4 separate regions of the Homo sapiens genome follow, and regions 1, 2 and 3 are each linked to region 4. The links are contacts of gene promoters, found by promoter capture Hi-C in blood cells and fetal thymus (Javierre and others, 2016). All regions are on one chromosome and are shown on one strand. Each heading gives the region's core, a stretch centred on a gene start or on the middle of the fragment in contact. The rest is flanking DNA. Distances are from core to core; before and after follow the strand shown. Region 1 has its middle 170 kb from the start of RAB12. Region 2 overlaps PTPRM (protein tyrosine phosphatase receptor type M). Region 3 overlaps PTPRM (protein tyrosine phosphatase receptor type M). Region 4 holds the start of LRRC30 (leucine rich repeat containing 30).

Region 1 (3,271 bases), core at 209-2,708, 1.2 Mb after region 4:
CTGATAATGTATATACACAAAGCATTTTTTATTTCCACTCATTAAATCTCAATCAAACAAGTAATCGCCCTAAACTACAGAGGCACAGAAATCCGTTTTCCCTGCCCATCAAATAGTAGCAATTTATTGTGGTGTAAAATAAATGAACTGCTAATACAATTTTTTAAAAACAGCAATAATAAAGCTAAAGGGCCGTGCCCCTGAGGGAGGATTGCCATGGTACGCAGGGGCGCAGAGCCAGTGACCAGGTTTGAATTCTAGCTCTGCCGCTGACTGAGCGACCTCAGCCAGGTAGCTCCCTCCCTGAGCCTCTGTTTCCCCTCTGCTGAAGGAGATGAGCATCATCTACTTCATAGGGTTGTGGAGGGACTTAAATGGATTAATTTGTGTGAAGCGTTTAGAGCCCTGCCTGGCATTATGTACCTGCTCATATTATTATACCCTAAATGACATACGAGAAAGGTGGAAGCAGGACTATGCTTCTCCTTCAGGGGAGAGCCTGGGCGTCAGGAGCAATGCCAACCCCTGCATCCAGCTGGCTCCTCCCTAATGTGACTCCTGGAAAAAGAGAGCCTTGATTTCCCGAGGTGCAGGTGCAGATAAGCATTTTCGTCTCCTCCTGGTACAGCTGAGCCCAGACCCACCTTACAGGTTCTCTCTGAAGTGCCAATTTCTGGCTCACCTGTCCCCTGCCTCGGGAGGTCACCAGGGCAGGGGGCTTGATGGAAGCTCCCAGTGATATGGGAGCGGGGCAGGGAAGTGCTAGGTAGAGAAAGGCGGGGTCCCTGATGAAGGCTCCACCCTCTGGCCTGTGCCCATGGACCTAGGTGTGGACAGGTACTTCTGTTTTCATGCCCAAATGTTGCATTTTCCAAGACCACCCTGACACACCATGCCCCCCAACTTGTGCCTGTAAAACCCCAAGACCCTAGCGGGCACACACATGAGCGGCTGGACGTTGAGAGGAACACACCGACAGAAGAACACACTGGCAGACTCCAGCAAGCCATTGACAGCAGAACCATGCGGATGGCGTGGAATTCGGCCGGGGAATGTCGGAGGAGAGTCTGGCTGCTGAATGGCCTGAATCCAGGGGAAAACCACCTTCCCACTCCATCTCCCTTCTGGCTCCCATCCATCTGCTGAGGGCTACTTCCACCACTCAATAAAACCTTGCACTCACTCTCCAAGCCCATGTGTCATCTGATTTTCTGGTACGCTAAGGCAAGAACCCCAGGATACAGAAAGCCCTCTCTCCTTGTGATAAGGCAGAGGGTCTAACTGAGCTGATTAACACAAGCCACCTGTGAACCGCTAAGCTGAAAAAGTGCACTGTAACACACGCCCACTGGGGCTTCGGGAGCTGTAAACACTCAACCCTAGACGCTGCCATAGGGTCAGAGCCCATGCTCCCCACGACCTGCCTGTCTGCATGCCCCCTCTAGGGGTTCGAGCTGCGGGACATGGAAGAAGTGAGCCACGCCTTCATCACATGCCCAAACTCCTCCTGTTTCACCAGGCAGGACAGAAGATGCAAACCCGGTGTGCAGATGTCCTCAGTCAGCAGGCGGCAAGCGGCACGACGCTGCACACCTGTCCTCCCTTTTCCAGGGCCCTTGCTCACAGCTGTCTGGGTTTCCCGTCTCTTTATTCTTCCCTTCCTCATCTCCTGTCTTTTCTCATTCCATCCACTCATCTGATACATCGTAGATGCTTTTCTGTCCTTGTTGCCATTTCTGACATTGATTTCTTTTCTTTTGCTCACTTGGTTACTTTTCTCTCACTTGATTACTTTTCTCTCACTTGATTTGTCTTTTTGACTTCTGATGACCTTCCCTGGGAAGCTCACTTCAAGAGCCTGGTCTCCCCCTCCAACCTCCCTTAGAGGTGGACCGTTTTAGACAAGAGGGGTGGGCGAGAGGCCCTTCCAGGCCCACCTTTGCCTGCCTGCCACGTGCCAGGCACCGTGTTGAGTGCTTGCCTGCAGAGCACCTGGAATCCCACACGCCACCCCACATAACAATAACAGTCACAGACACCTTTTGAGTGTGTGCTTGCTGTGTGCTACGTGTCTGATTCTTCGCTTGCCTTCACTATTGAGTCCTCACGAACCATATACCTAGGTACTATTGTTATTCTATCCTTATAGATGAGGAAACCGAGACACAGAAAGGCTAGGTAGCATGCCAGCATGTCATCGACAGCAGGTGACGGCAGAATTCAGACTCAGGCAGTGCACTCTCAGCCCCCTACACTAAATGGTAAGGTTATTCCTCTTGATTTTTCCTTGATTGGGAACTGAAGTTCAGGGAGAATGAGTGACTTACCTGAGGTCACAGAGCTTAGCTTACCCAAGGCCGAGCTAAGGGCAACATCTTTGCATTCAACTGATGTTCTCCTTACATGCGAGTCTGTGTCCAAATTTCCCCTTTTATGTGGACACTAGTCATACTGGATTAGGGGCCACCCAATGGCTTCATTTTAGCTTAGTAGAGACCCTATCTCCAAATAAGGTGACATTTTTGGGGAGACACAATTCAACCCTTACCACAAGGGCAGTGCCTGGATGCAGCAGCCTCAGGAGTGATGATGCAGCCACAGCCTCCCATTAACAGTCCCAGGTCTACATTGTTTCAGTACAAACAGGTTCCAAGGCCACCATGTGGTGAGTGATGACAGTGTTACTGCTTTTGTCTCATGGAGATATGAGCTTAGCCAGCAATGGCGCACTTGACAATAAAGAACATGGAGAGATGCTGCCTGGACACCTCGGAGAACTTTCTTGTGTGCTGATGACAATAAATACATAGGTAAGTAGGCCTTCTCTCATCATCCCAGATCTTCATTAGCCAACCACTAGACCTCACACGGACCCACGAATTTTTAAATACATTTTAATCATACTAGTCATACAGACACGACTCCCAGCAAAATATTTTCTCATGGCCCCTCACACCCAAAGGGTGACCCAGGGACCCACTCTGTGCCTGGGAAGCACCGCTGCTGGCCTGAGCCCCCTCTTCATTCTGGCTGCCACCTCCCTGTGTCTTCTTTCTTGATGAGGGTGTGGCTCTCATTAATCATCAATGAGATGGTGACACGGGGTTTCTCTCCACCTTAGCAGTGTGTCCTGATATCCCACTTTCTATTCCTCCCTCCGGAATTCCCTCCACCCTCTCCCAGCAGGGAATCTTAGCCTCTGCGGAATTTTCTGTTTCCCTCAACTTGGGGTGCTCAGACCCCCCAATCTACCACTCTTGCCCTCTGCTAA
Region 2 (3,425 bases), core at 810-3,309, 1.2 Mb after region 4:
GCAGAACTTTTAATTATGTGTAATTTTAAAAGTAAAGTTAAATTTTCTCCATCAAGATAATTATGTATAGATTCGATATTGCCTCTCTACCAGAAATATTTTAAAAATTGATAAGAGATACTAATTAAGTTTTCTTGGTATCAAAGTAAGACTTTTATCACTATTATTCTGCAGAGAAGTTTATATTTAGTCTATGTTGGTGCTGACAATGGTGACAGAATTCAACAGCTGTTAAACATGTTCAGTGTTTTGTGCCACAAGCTTCCTTCTGCATGAAATAACCTAGCTTCTTCTCTTCCCATTTTCCTGAGTATATTTGGAGCATTCTTGTTTGTGTTTGCAGAGCTATAAACAGCCTTCAGCTTTTATAGTCACCCAGCATCCTTTGCCAAACACAGTGAAAGACTTTTGGAGACTGGTCCTGGATTATCACTGCACATCCGTAGTTATGCTAAATGATGTGGATCCTGCCCAGGTGAGACCCGGACTTCTTACAGTCAGAACTAGTGCCAGGGGGTCAAGTTTGTTTTTACACTGAGTTTGTTTGCACCCGAGAAGTGCAGGCCCTAGTGCCAGATCTCAAGTGCCAGTTGAAGTTGAGAACTGGGGATGCTGAACACAACGGTTAAAAATCAGGCGGAATTAGGGGTTAGAAAGTCAGTTGAAACCAGAAATACAGGCTGAAATCATAGATGGTTGAGGTGACAGGGCAAGACACGGCCAGAAGTTGAGCTGTTCCTAAAAGATGGAAATACTCACTGGAGGTTGACAAGGTCGCAGACCGAGTTGGAGCTCAGCAGGAACCTGAACATCGCAGAGCCAAAGCAGAATGAGCAAACCAGAGGACAGTGGAGAAGGGAAGATAGCGTTTGACCCAGCCCAGATCCCATTCCTGGAGTGACTGTGTGCTTCCTGGCACAGCTCACCGGGAGCCTACAGGTAGAGATCGTCATGCAGGGCAGGTAGAGATTGTCATGCAGGGTGACAGTGTCGGGGTGACAGCAGAGACAGGCAAGCAATTTTAAGGCACAGCAATTAGTTTTCTCAATGCTTTAGTAAAGATATTAAAAAGAAATAATACTGGGACTTGGAGATAAGAGAAGTTTGGAATGATAAATGGGGCTTTTGCATAGTTACTCTTAAACATTAAAGAGAAAGAATTGGACAGTGATGACTCAATGTTAGTAATGGAGTTAGACACATTTTCTTGAAGCAGGTTGTCAGGCAAGCATTAGCACAGTGGTCCTTTAGGAGATGAATTTATTGCTTTGGGATGTGCCTATACCAATCATAGACAACCACCATGACAGTAGGCATTATGGGAAGTTTGACCTTAGCGTGTTTTAAGAAAAAACTTGTTCTGGAAATGAATTAATTTCCTGTCCAGTAGACACAAATTCTTTTTCTTAAAAAAAAAAAAAAAAAAAGTCTGAAGCATTTCGGCATCCCAACTGGACATGATGGCAAGATTTTTCCTTCCTACAATCTGTTTTCTTGCCATCATCCAGCCATAAATGGCATGGACATTCAATTCAGTTCTATAAGGTTTTTAATTATGTCTGAGGCACTGCATTATATTGTCAAAGCTCTTGCCTGAAAGCTGGTTAATGAAATAGTAATGATAATCTTTGTTCTTATCCAGTCCTTTTGGCTTAAGAAGCTTAAATATTTTAAAACTCTTCCCCACTGATGCTCTGAGAAGGTTAGCTTACAGTCATTTATAAAGACAAGCAGACACCACGGCTTGTGAAGCTTCAAAGACCCAACTCAAAATAGAACCAAGGGTCCTGATTTTCTCACTTACAGTGGCACGGCCGAAATTTCACTAATTCTAGAGTCTTAAGTTGCAGACACTTATAGAATAAGGGACTTCTTCCTTATTTAGAATCATGATGGTTTTTTTCTTAATGTGAATCCTGAAATGTGGAGATATTTTTGTTCATATTAGTGAACAAGACATCAGTGATTCTAGTGCATTCTTTTTGAAAAACTGCATTGGAATTCTAAAGCCGCATTCTAAACCCGAACTATCTGGACTCAAACCAAGCCTTGGCTGGCTCATGGGTAGGAGAGACAAAAAGACTCCAGTTCTATTCAGCAGACAGAGCTGATTTTCAGAGTGAGAGAAAAGAGGCTCCTGGGATTCAGTCTTTTAGCGAACACTAAACTGAGCATTTGAATGTAAAGGCTTTGCAATTCTACAAGAATAGCACTCAACTATTTTAAGTATTTATAGGTCCGGTTCACGGACGTGTTATGCACCATTTAAGCCATTTTCTACATGGTTTACTTGGGCAGAGCATAGAATGCAATGTGCCAAGAGGCAAGTGCAACCCACGTCACTCATATTTCTTTGGTGTAAGTGGCAAGCTTTTGGTCAGGAGCTTGAACTGAGAAAGCAAGCAGAAAGCAGAGTAAGCTCAGGCAGTAGAAAAATGGGCAGAACGGTTCAGATGTACATGTTACAGCTTTTATTAACATCTCGGCTTCCCATCATAATGCCTATTAATTTCAACAGTGGGTACACTTTGGGCATCAAAAAGAACATAAACATCACATGCTATTATTTGACAAGGCAGTTTTATAACTTGTCACCAGGAAGTGCTGGTGAGGAAGGAAATATTTCACGGAAGCATTATTTAAAAATAAATAAATGTAATTTTTAAAATACTGTCAGCATAGCTAACATAAAAGGCACCCTTGGTTACCCTACTTTCATTCTTACTTATAAAATCCCAACCTTAACTGTTCTGTGATGGAGAGAGAGATACTGCTGTTTTGATTGGCCCACTGCTAACTGAAAACTATCCTGCAATCTTGGGTATAAATCAACCTTAGCAACCTTTGACAATGAGATTTTAGATCCTTTGGAAAACAGAAGTCATCTAGAAATTCAGCCAGTGGATCCTCCTTTCCTGACACATCATTCTGCATAAAATTAGGTGATTGTCTTCCTCTGCTCTTGGCCCAGGATAGAAACAGGTTGTATAATAAAGTAGTTCTCCCCTTGCCTTTCCATAGGCCACCTGTCCCTCAGCTAAATCAGAAAGATAAAAGTTAGATGCGGCCAGGCGCAGTGGCTCACACCAGTAATCCCAGCACTTTGGGAGGCCGAGGCGGGTGGATCATGAGGTCAAGAGATCGAGACCATCCTGGCCAACATGGTGAAACCCCCTCTCCACTAAAAATACAAAAATTAGCCGGGCGTGGTGGCGCATGCCTGTAGTCCCTACTACTCAGGAGGCCAAGGCAAAAGAATCGCTTGAACCCGGGGGGCGGAGTTTGTGGTGAGCCGAGATCACACCACTGCACTCCAACCTGGCGACAGAACGAGCTTCTGCCTCAAAAAAAAAAAAAAAAAAAAAAAAAAAAAAAAAAGGTAGATGCTACTCAAAAAAAAGTTATAGGAATAAGAAGTCCCAAAG
Region 3 (3,247 bases), core at 569-3,068, 1.2 Mb after region 4:
CCTCCCAGCTCCAAGCCTGCTGATGTTCAACCACCCTACAAGGAGCCCCCCAAGCTTTCTCCCAGCCTAGAGGCTGGACACCAGCGGGGCTCTCAGGGTTCATGATGTGTGGAAAAGGTAAGGGAAAAAAATCGACAACTAAAAGCCATTAGACGAAAATTCCAAATAGAATGTAGCCGGATAAGCAGTCCCAACCCACCTGGGAGTCTGAAAGGGAGGGCCCTGTAGGAAGGTGATGGTCATAACCCTTCGCTGGGTTGATTTGTTACTGAGTTGCTGGGAGAAATCCAGGATAAAGGGTGGTAAAGCAGTGCATGCTCTTGCACCGGGAGAAAAAGGGCACAGGTTAGTGTAGGGGACCTGAGAACAGGGCAGAGCTCAATCACTGTGTGTGTGAGCTTCATCTCAGACCAGGTGTAACAGGAACAGCCCCGTCCACCATCACGTGCCTTGTAAGATTCAGAAAAGAGCATCTCCTCAGTGGTTCTCAAGCCTGGTTGCCCACTGAAGTCATCTGGGAGCTTTAGAACAATTCTGATCCCTGGGCCCACCTGGAGACTGATTCGATTGGTCAGGGGCCTGGCTGCAGCAGCCGAGTGTTAAAAGCCCCTGGTGAGTCTCATGTGCAGCCTAGCTTAAGAACCATGTCTGCTCTAGACGCAGTATCAGCCCAGGCTGCACTTGAGAATCCGCCCACCCCCAACTCCCGGGGGAGCTTTCAGAAATACCAGTGCACAGGCCTGCCCCAGCCCACTTCAGCCAGAGGCTCTGAGATGGAGCCCCCGCCAGGTAGGATAGACGTGCCACACGGCTGAGAAAGTTGGTGTAGGAGGATCAGCGGGCCTCTCCCTTCCCTGCAGTGCCATGCGGCGGTGTTCACAGCTCGCCGCCCCCTCCCCCTCCGTCCCACTTACTCCAGAGCCAGGCCCCATCCTGATCTGCGGATCTGCCGCACAGGTTCAGGTTGCCCCCTCTGTAACTTACAGCCGACCCTCCAGACTCAGCCTCACCTCCCCTTTAGTAAGCCAACAATGGACTCACATACAAAATGCAATGTGGTGTGGGGCCTACAGCTCTCCCCCTTGTGCCACCAACTGGTGTGTATAGGCTGTCCCTCAATAGCTCTTGCTGTGAAATTTGCAGCCTATTTAACGGCTGTGCATGTGTGTGTGCATGTGTTGGGGTGGTGAGTGCAGGAGTTGGGTGGGAATCAGAGGTGAGCTAGGGTCCCCAATCCACACTCCAGGCACCTTGAATCCACCCATGGTCAGTCTTCCTGCACTGTTGAGGAAGGTTTGTAATAATTTTTGCTAATACCCCATCCCCTCTCCCCACCCCCAGATTCCACTTGCCCATCCTGCCCCCTACACTCAGCACCAGCCAAGCGCCTGGCTCCCAGGAGTTTCCCAGTAAGCATTTTCTGAGTGACTGAACCATTCTTCTCTGCAGCCAGACCTGAGTCCAACCTGAGCCACCCTTTGCTGCCCTCTCCAACCTAGGGGAGGTTGTGGCTGTGCTCAGCAGGGCCTCAATAAGGAACTGGGCATGGATTTTGCAGGGGGCTTTGGTGAAGAAAGTTCTACCTATAGGTATTAAAGATAGAGATTAAGGGAATGAGCCACTCATCATTCCAGGGACATGCTGCTGTCTCGCTGAGCAGGGATGAGAATTTATTGGTCTCCTTGGCACAGAGTGGCTGGCCACAACCTGGCTGGGAACACTGAACTGAGGGATCCCACCACGGTAATAGGGCCCACGCTGCCCTTCTGGCAGGGCATCACTCAGAAGAATTTTTCCAGCCCGAAGGATCTGTCCGTTCAGGGTCTAGCCAAAATCATAGAGCTTGCCTTAGTTTCAAAAGCAACCAGGTCAGAGGTGGAGGCTATTCTCTTTGAACCTTTGGAGGCCGTTGATGTGGTGTTTGAAGTGCCCACGCTGGCCGCCAGCCTGAGTTCCTTAGACACAGGCAGCCTGCGCAGACGACAAGGCTCGGGCCCCTGACGGAGGCCCCCAGTGCCGCCCGCTGGTGTGCTGGCCTCGTGACGCCCTCACCAAGCTAGCAGTGGCTTTTAACAGCCAACCTCAATTTCCAGTTCCCTTGCACATTTTGCTTTCTCCCACTCATAGGTACAGGAAGTCTGATCGGGAGCGGGGCCAGCGTCAGGGACCTTGGTGAGGAATAGCAGCAGGTTGCCCTGGTTACGGTCTGACCCAAGGATGTGAGGAGGACCGGGCCAGGCTCCCACCTGAGCCCCTACTCAGGGCACCTCCTCATGCCCGAAGCCAGCTAATGTCACCCAAATTGGAGCACTCAGGACCAAGGCCTAAACATTCCTTTTTCCCCTGGAGCACAGGGATGGCTCATGTGGCTTAATTATACTGTTCAAAAGGGAGTGAGCTGAGAGAGGAAACTGCAGCAGATAGACCTATACCTGGTAATCAAATGTAATCAGTTTCCAATGTAGGAAGATTTCAGGCATTTACCCAGGTGCTTGGGGGAGGGGACACAACAATTTGTGGTCTTCCTTCTCTTTCCCCTTATTTTTCTGATTCAGAAACCAGTCATCACAGAATCTATGGGGACTGGGTGCTTGCTCAGGAAGGATAAGGTGGGAGAGGGAGAATTCATTTTGAAAATTATAGTCATGCCTGAGACAGGGCAGCTTCGGTGACTTCCAAGCAGCAGCTCCTTAGCAGCGAAGCCCAAAATCCCTCCTGAGTTTCCGGCCTGTGTTGTGGCCTGAGGGCAGCAGCCACATCTCTCCACTAGGTGCATTTTAACATGTTAAAAGGAAATATGTTAAAAGGATGGCTCTGAGTAGCCACTGAAATTAATTGCACAATTAGGCTTGTATAAAATCTTTTTTATGCAGTAAGGGATGGGACCGTGTAGATTTCCATTACAGAAAGAATTGTCCCTGTGATTCACAAAAGCATGATGGGAGCACTTCACAGCCAAGATGTCGGCCTGGTGATCTGACAACGTGGCCTTTTGGAATTTTGAAATTCCAATTATCTCTTTTAAATATTCTGAAAATAAAAGTATCAAATCCTGAAATAATAAATACTAGAATATGAATCAGAAATCTAATTTTGCCCAGGGCAAGAAATAATTTTTTCCAGTTAAAAAGTTAAAAAAATACTTCTACCTTTATTGGCATTGTGTGTGGAAAAAGTGGTCTATTTAAGGGAAATACAGGCTAGTAAAATATTTGTTATTTGCACTAGGAGATAATTTAAGGAACAC
Region 4 (3,349 bases), core at 647-3,146:
AGAAGTGGCCTCCTCTTGTTTTTAACTCTGCTGCTCCTCCTGCTCAGATCCTGCGCCCTGGATGCGGACGGACTTCCAGGCTCCCCAGGCAGCACCCAGCTAGGACCCAGTGACAACTCTTGGGTTGGTAGCAACAGCCCTGTGAGGTCAGGGTCCCAGGAGCAGCAGGGGTCTCCAGGATATATAGCAGCAAAAATCTCACCCTTCCAGGCCAAACCAGCCCTTGCCACGGGCCACAAGCCCTTTGCTCAGAACCTAGGTCAGCTCCTTGATATCCCTTGTCCCCTTAATCACTACCTATTTTTAGGATTTTTCACCTATGCAGATGTGTGTCCGCCTCCTCCCCAACTATATTAGTTTGCCAGACCTGCTCTAAGAAACTGGGTGGCTTAACCAACAGAAATGTATTTTTCTCACAATTCTGGAGACTGGAAGCCTGAGATCAAGGTGTTGGTTTCTTCTGAGGCCTCTCTCCTTGGCTCGCAGGTGGCTGCCTTCTCCCTGTGTCTTCACTTGGCCTGATTGCCAAACCCAGCGCCTTCTGAGATACTGGGGGTTACAATTTCAGCATACGAAATTTGAGGGCAGGGTGAGGGGACACAGTTCAGCCCATAACACCAACAATTAACTCTGCAAACTTAAGATGTAAGTTAACTTTTTTAATTCAAGAAAAAGACAGGGAGGCCGAGGCAGGTCCACCCGCCTTGATCAGGAGGTCAAGACCATCCTGGCAAACATGGTGAAACCCCGTCTCTACTAAAAATACAAAAATTAGCTGGATATGGTGGTGGGTGCCTGTAATCCCAGCTGCTTGGGAGGCTGAAGCAGGAGAATCACTTGAACCCGGGAGGCAGAGGTTCCAGTGAGCCGAGATCGTGCCACTGCACTCCAGCTTGGACGACAAGAGCAAAAACTCCATCAAAAATAAAAGAAAAATAAATAAATAAATAAATAAAAATAAATAAAAGACAGGGAGGAGAAGAGAGAGAGAGAGAAAGAGAACGGTGTGTAGCGAGGGGGGCCTCATCATATCCTTCCAGGACAATAGGTGGCCCGCGCTTACCATACTAAGGTGGCCACTCAAGTGACTGTTCAAACACTTAAAGTGCATCCTACTAAATACAGAAGGTCTCTGTAAGACACATGAGCCCAGAGCTTCTCTGGATGAAATGGGAGTGAGGGGTTGAGATCCCCCCACAACTCCCTTCTCACTAAATCACCTCTGACAAGCACAGGATAAAAACCTTTGACCTGGAAGATTCCAGGTATCCGGGCTGCTTTTGTTATCTTTTCACAAACGCACAGTTCATCAAGGTTTGGAACAGGGACCTATGATATCATCTGATGATCTTTAGCTTTGGAGACATAACTGTCACTAGCACCCAGCCCAGTTTCACTGTAAAGTTGTCTGGCTGAGCTCCCGCAATCCTGCCAACAGTCCGTACTTGTGTGGCCTGCTCTGTTTTTCCATTTTACTTCTTTTTAGAGATGGGCTTGTTAATCACCCTGCTCAACTGTGATACCCAAGAAAAGCTGAGAGAGTAAAGTTATATGCAGCCTTCCTGTGACCTGTTTGCATGTACCCAGTCAATAAAACTCAGGCAGAGTGACAGTGACAGCTGCCTTGTGGCATTCAGAGGGATTTGAGCAGTTTAGCAGCCTCCTGGACAAGTATATCATTACAGCCCAGCTGCTAAGAAAGAAAACACCTAAACCCTGGGGAACAGGCACAGCTCCTGCAGCCACCCAGGGACCTGTCTCAGATACCTGCAAGGCCTGATCAAGACTCTCCTGGCAGCTTTCTCCACACTAGGACCTCCTAGTCACAAGTTGGTTCTCACCCTGACGCACACTCCCTGCCTGCAACAGCCTGGCTTTTAGCAGCTGAGAGGACACGGTCCCTGCCTGGGAGGTGGCAGAGGAGAGTGACTAGAAGGGAAGGTACAATGGGGGCCAGGCAGTCAAGGGCCAGCTCCAAGGATAAGGGCCCCAAGAGGATGCTGTTCACGGGGAGGAGACAGAAGTTTTCTCCGTGGGACGATGCCCTGCTCTCGGGAAGGGACCCGCGGTCCCTGCTGAAGCGGGGCATGCACCACGTCAGCTTCAGCCTGGTCACGAGAGGAATGACAGACATCCCCGACTTTCTGTGGGGCTTGTCCGAGGTCCAGAAACTCAATCTGTCTCACAACCAGCTCCGGGTTCTCCCTCCCGAGGTGGGGAAACTGACCCGGATCGTGGTCCTGAACTTGTGCGGGAACCGCCTGAAGAGCCTGCCCAGAGAAGTGAGCCTCCTACAGTGCCTCAAGGTCCTGTTTGTCAACATGAACTGCCTGACAGAGGTGCCGGCCGAGCTGAGCTTGTGCCGAAAGCTGGAGGTCCTGAGCTTGTCGCACAACTGCCTGTCCCAGCTCCCTGCATGCTTCGCCGACCTCTCTAGACTGAGGAAGCTAAACCTCAGCAACAACTTCTTCGCGCACATCCCCATGTGTGTGTTCTCCCTGAAGGAACTGATTTTCTTGCACGTGGGCTCGAATCGCCTGGAAAACATCGCTGAGAGCATCCAGCACCTGGCCAGCCTGCAGATCTTCATCGCAGAGGGCAACAACATCCACTCCTTCCCGAGGTCGCTTTGCCTGGTCACCAGCCTGGAGCTGCTGAACCTCAACAACAATGACATCCAGACCCTCCCGAGCGAACTCCACCTGCTGTGTAGACTGGTGAGGATCGCCTGGAATCCCATGGACAAAGGGCTCCACATTTCCCACAACCCTTTATCCAAGCCTCTGCCGGAGCTGGTGGAGGGGGGCCTGGAGATGCTCTTCGGCTACCTGAAGGACAAAAAACACACCTGACCTGGGTCCCGGAGGCCTGGATGGGAGGCAGCTCATCTGGACTCTGTCAACCGGGGTACTTCTCTCGTCTCAGCTTTCTACTCTCATCCTTAGTGTCTGACAATACCTTTGTTAATATTTGCTAAGTCGCTGTTGAACATCCACGTTAAGGAGGTGATTGTTTTTAACTCTGTATGTTCTTAATAACCTCTGGAATATCATGTTCATCTCATCCTAAACATAAATTGAAACAGGGGGTTGGTTTTCCCCAAAGAGAACTAACAGTTCTGATTCTTCTGAGGAGCAGTGAGATTCAGCCCTTGGGAGAGTGGACACCTAACAGGTCTGAATTCAATGTAATTCAAAAGGCAAATATTTGCTAAGTACTGTGTGCCAAGTACAGTATGAGGTGCTGAAACCTGGTTTCAGATAGTTTCTGCCCTTGAATCAGCAACCTGTGGCCAGGTGGCAACGGCAAGACACGTTCCTCCATCAGCCTCTGTGAAACATTACTTGGG

The links. The method cuts DNA at HindIII sites, captures the fragments that hold promoters and counts their contacts. A CHiCAGO score of 5 or more calls a contact.
Region 1: a fragment that was not itself captured here is called in contact with the fragment with the promoter of LRRC30 in region 4 in 1 of 17 cell types (fetal thymus); the score reaches 5.8 in fetal thymus.
Region 2: a fragment that was not itself captured here is called in contact with the fragment with the promoter of LRRC30 in region 4 in 3 of 17 cell types (M2 macrophages, M1 macrophages and M0 macrophages); the score reaches 8.1 in M2 macrophages.
Region 3: a contact is called between a fragment that was not itself captured here and the fragment with the promoter of LRRC30 in region 4, in 5 of 17 cell types (M0 macrophages, M1 macrophages, fetal thymus and 2 more). The highest score is 9.3, in M0 macrophages.

Annotation. Positions count from the first base shown.
Region 1 is chr18:8,434,173-8,437,443 of GRCh38, forward strand. No RefSeq gene overlaps it. Among named protein-coding and RNA genes, the nearest start is that of RAB12, 170 kb to the right of the region's middle. The HindIII fragment of the contact is 4,363 bases long and covers 1-3,271 here.
Region 2 is chr18:8,379,953-8,383,377 of GRCh38, forward strand. PTPRM (protein tyrosine phosphatase receptor type M) reads left to right here. Exons shown (of 33, transcript NM_001105244.2): 29 at 344-475. Among named protein-coding and RNA genes, the nearest start is that of RAB12, 230 kb to the right of the region's middle. The HindIII fragment of the contact is 618 bases long and covers 1,751-2,368 here.
Region 3 is chr18:8,399,715-8,402,961 of GRCh38, forward strand. The region is part of intron 32 of PTPRM (protein tyrosine phosphatase receptor type M); the gene reads left to right. LOC124904241 (a long non-coding RNA gene) reads left to right here. Exons shown (of 2, transcript XR_007066275.1): 2 at 1-3,247. Among named protein-coding and RNA genes, the nearest start is that of RAB12, 210 kb to the right of the region's middle. RefSeq lists an enhancer at 1,510-2,040. The HindIII fragment of the contact is 3,533 bases long and covers 53-3,247 here.
Region 4 is chr18:7,229,193-7,232,541 of GRCh38, forward strand. LRRC30 (leucine rich repeat containing 30) reads left to right here and starts at 1,897. Exons shown (of 1, transcript NM_001105581.3): 1 at 1,897-2,852. The coding sequence starts at 1,947. The coding sequence ends at 2,852. The HindIII fragment of the contact is 6,496 bases long and covers 1-3,349 here.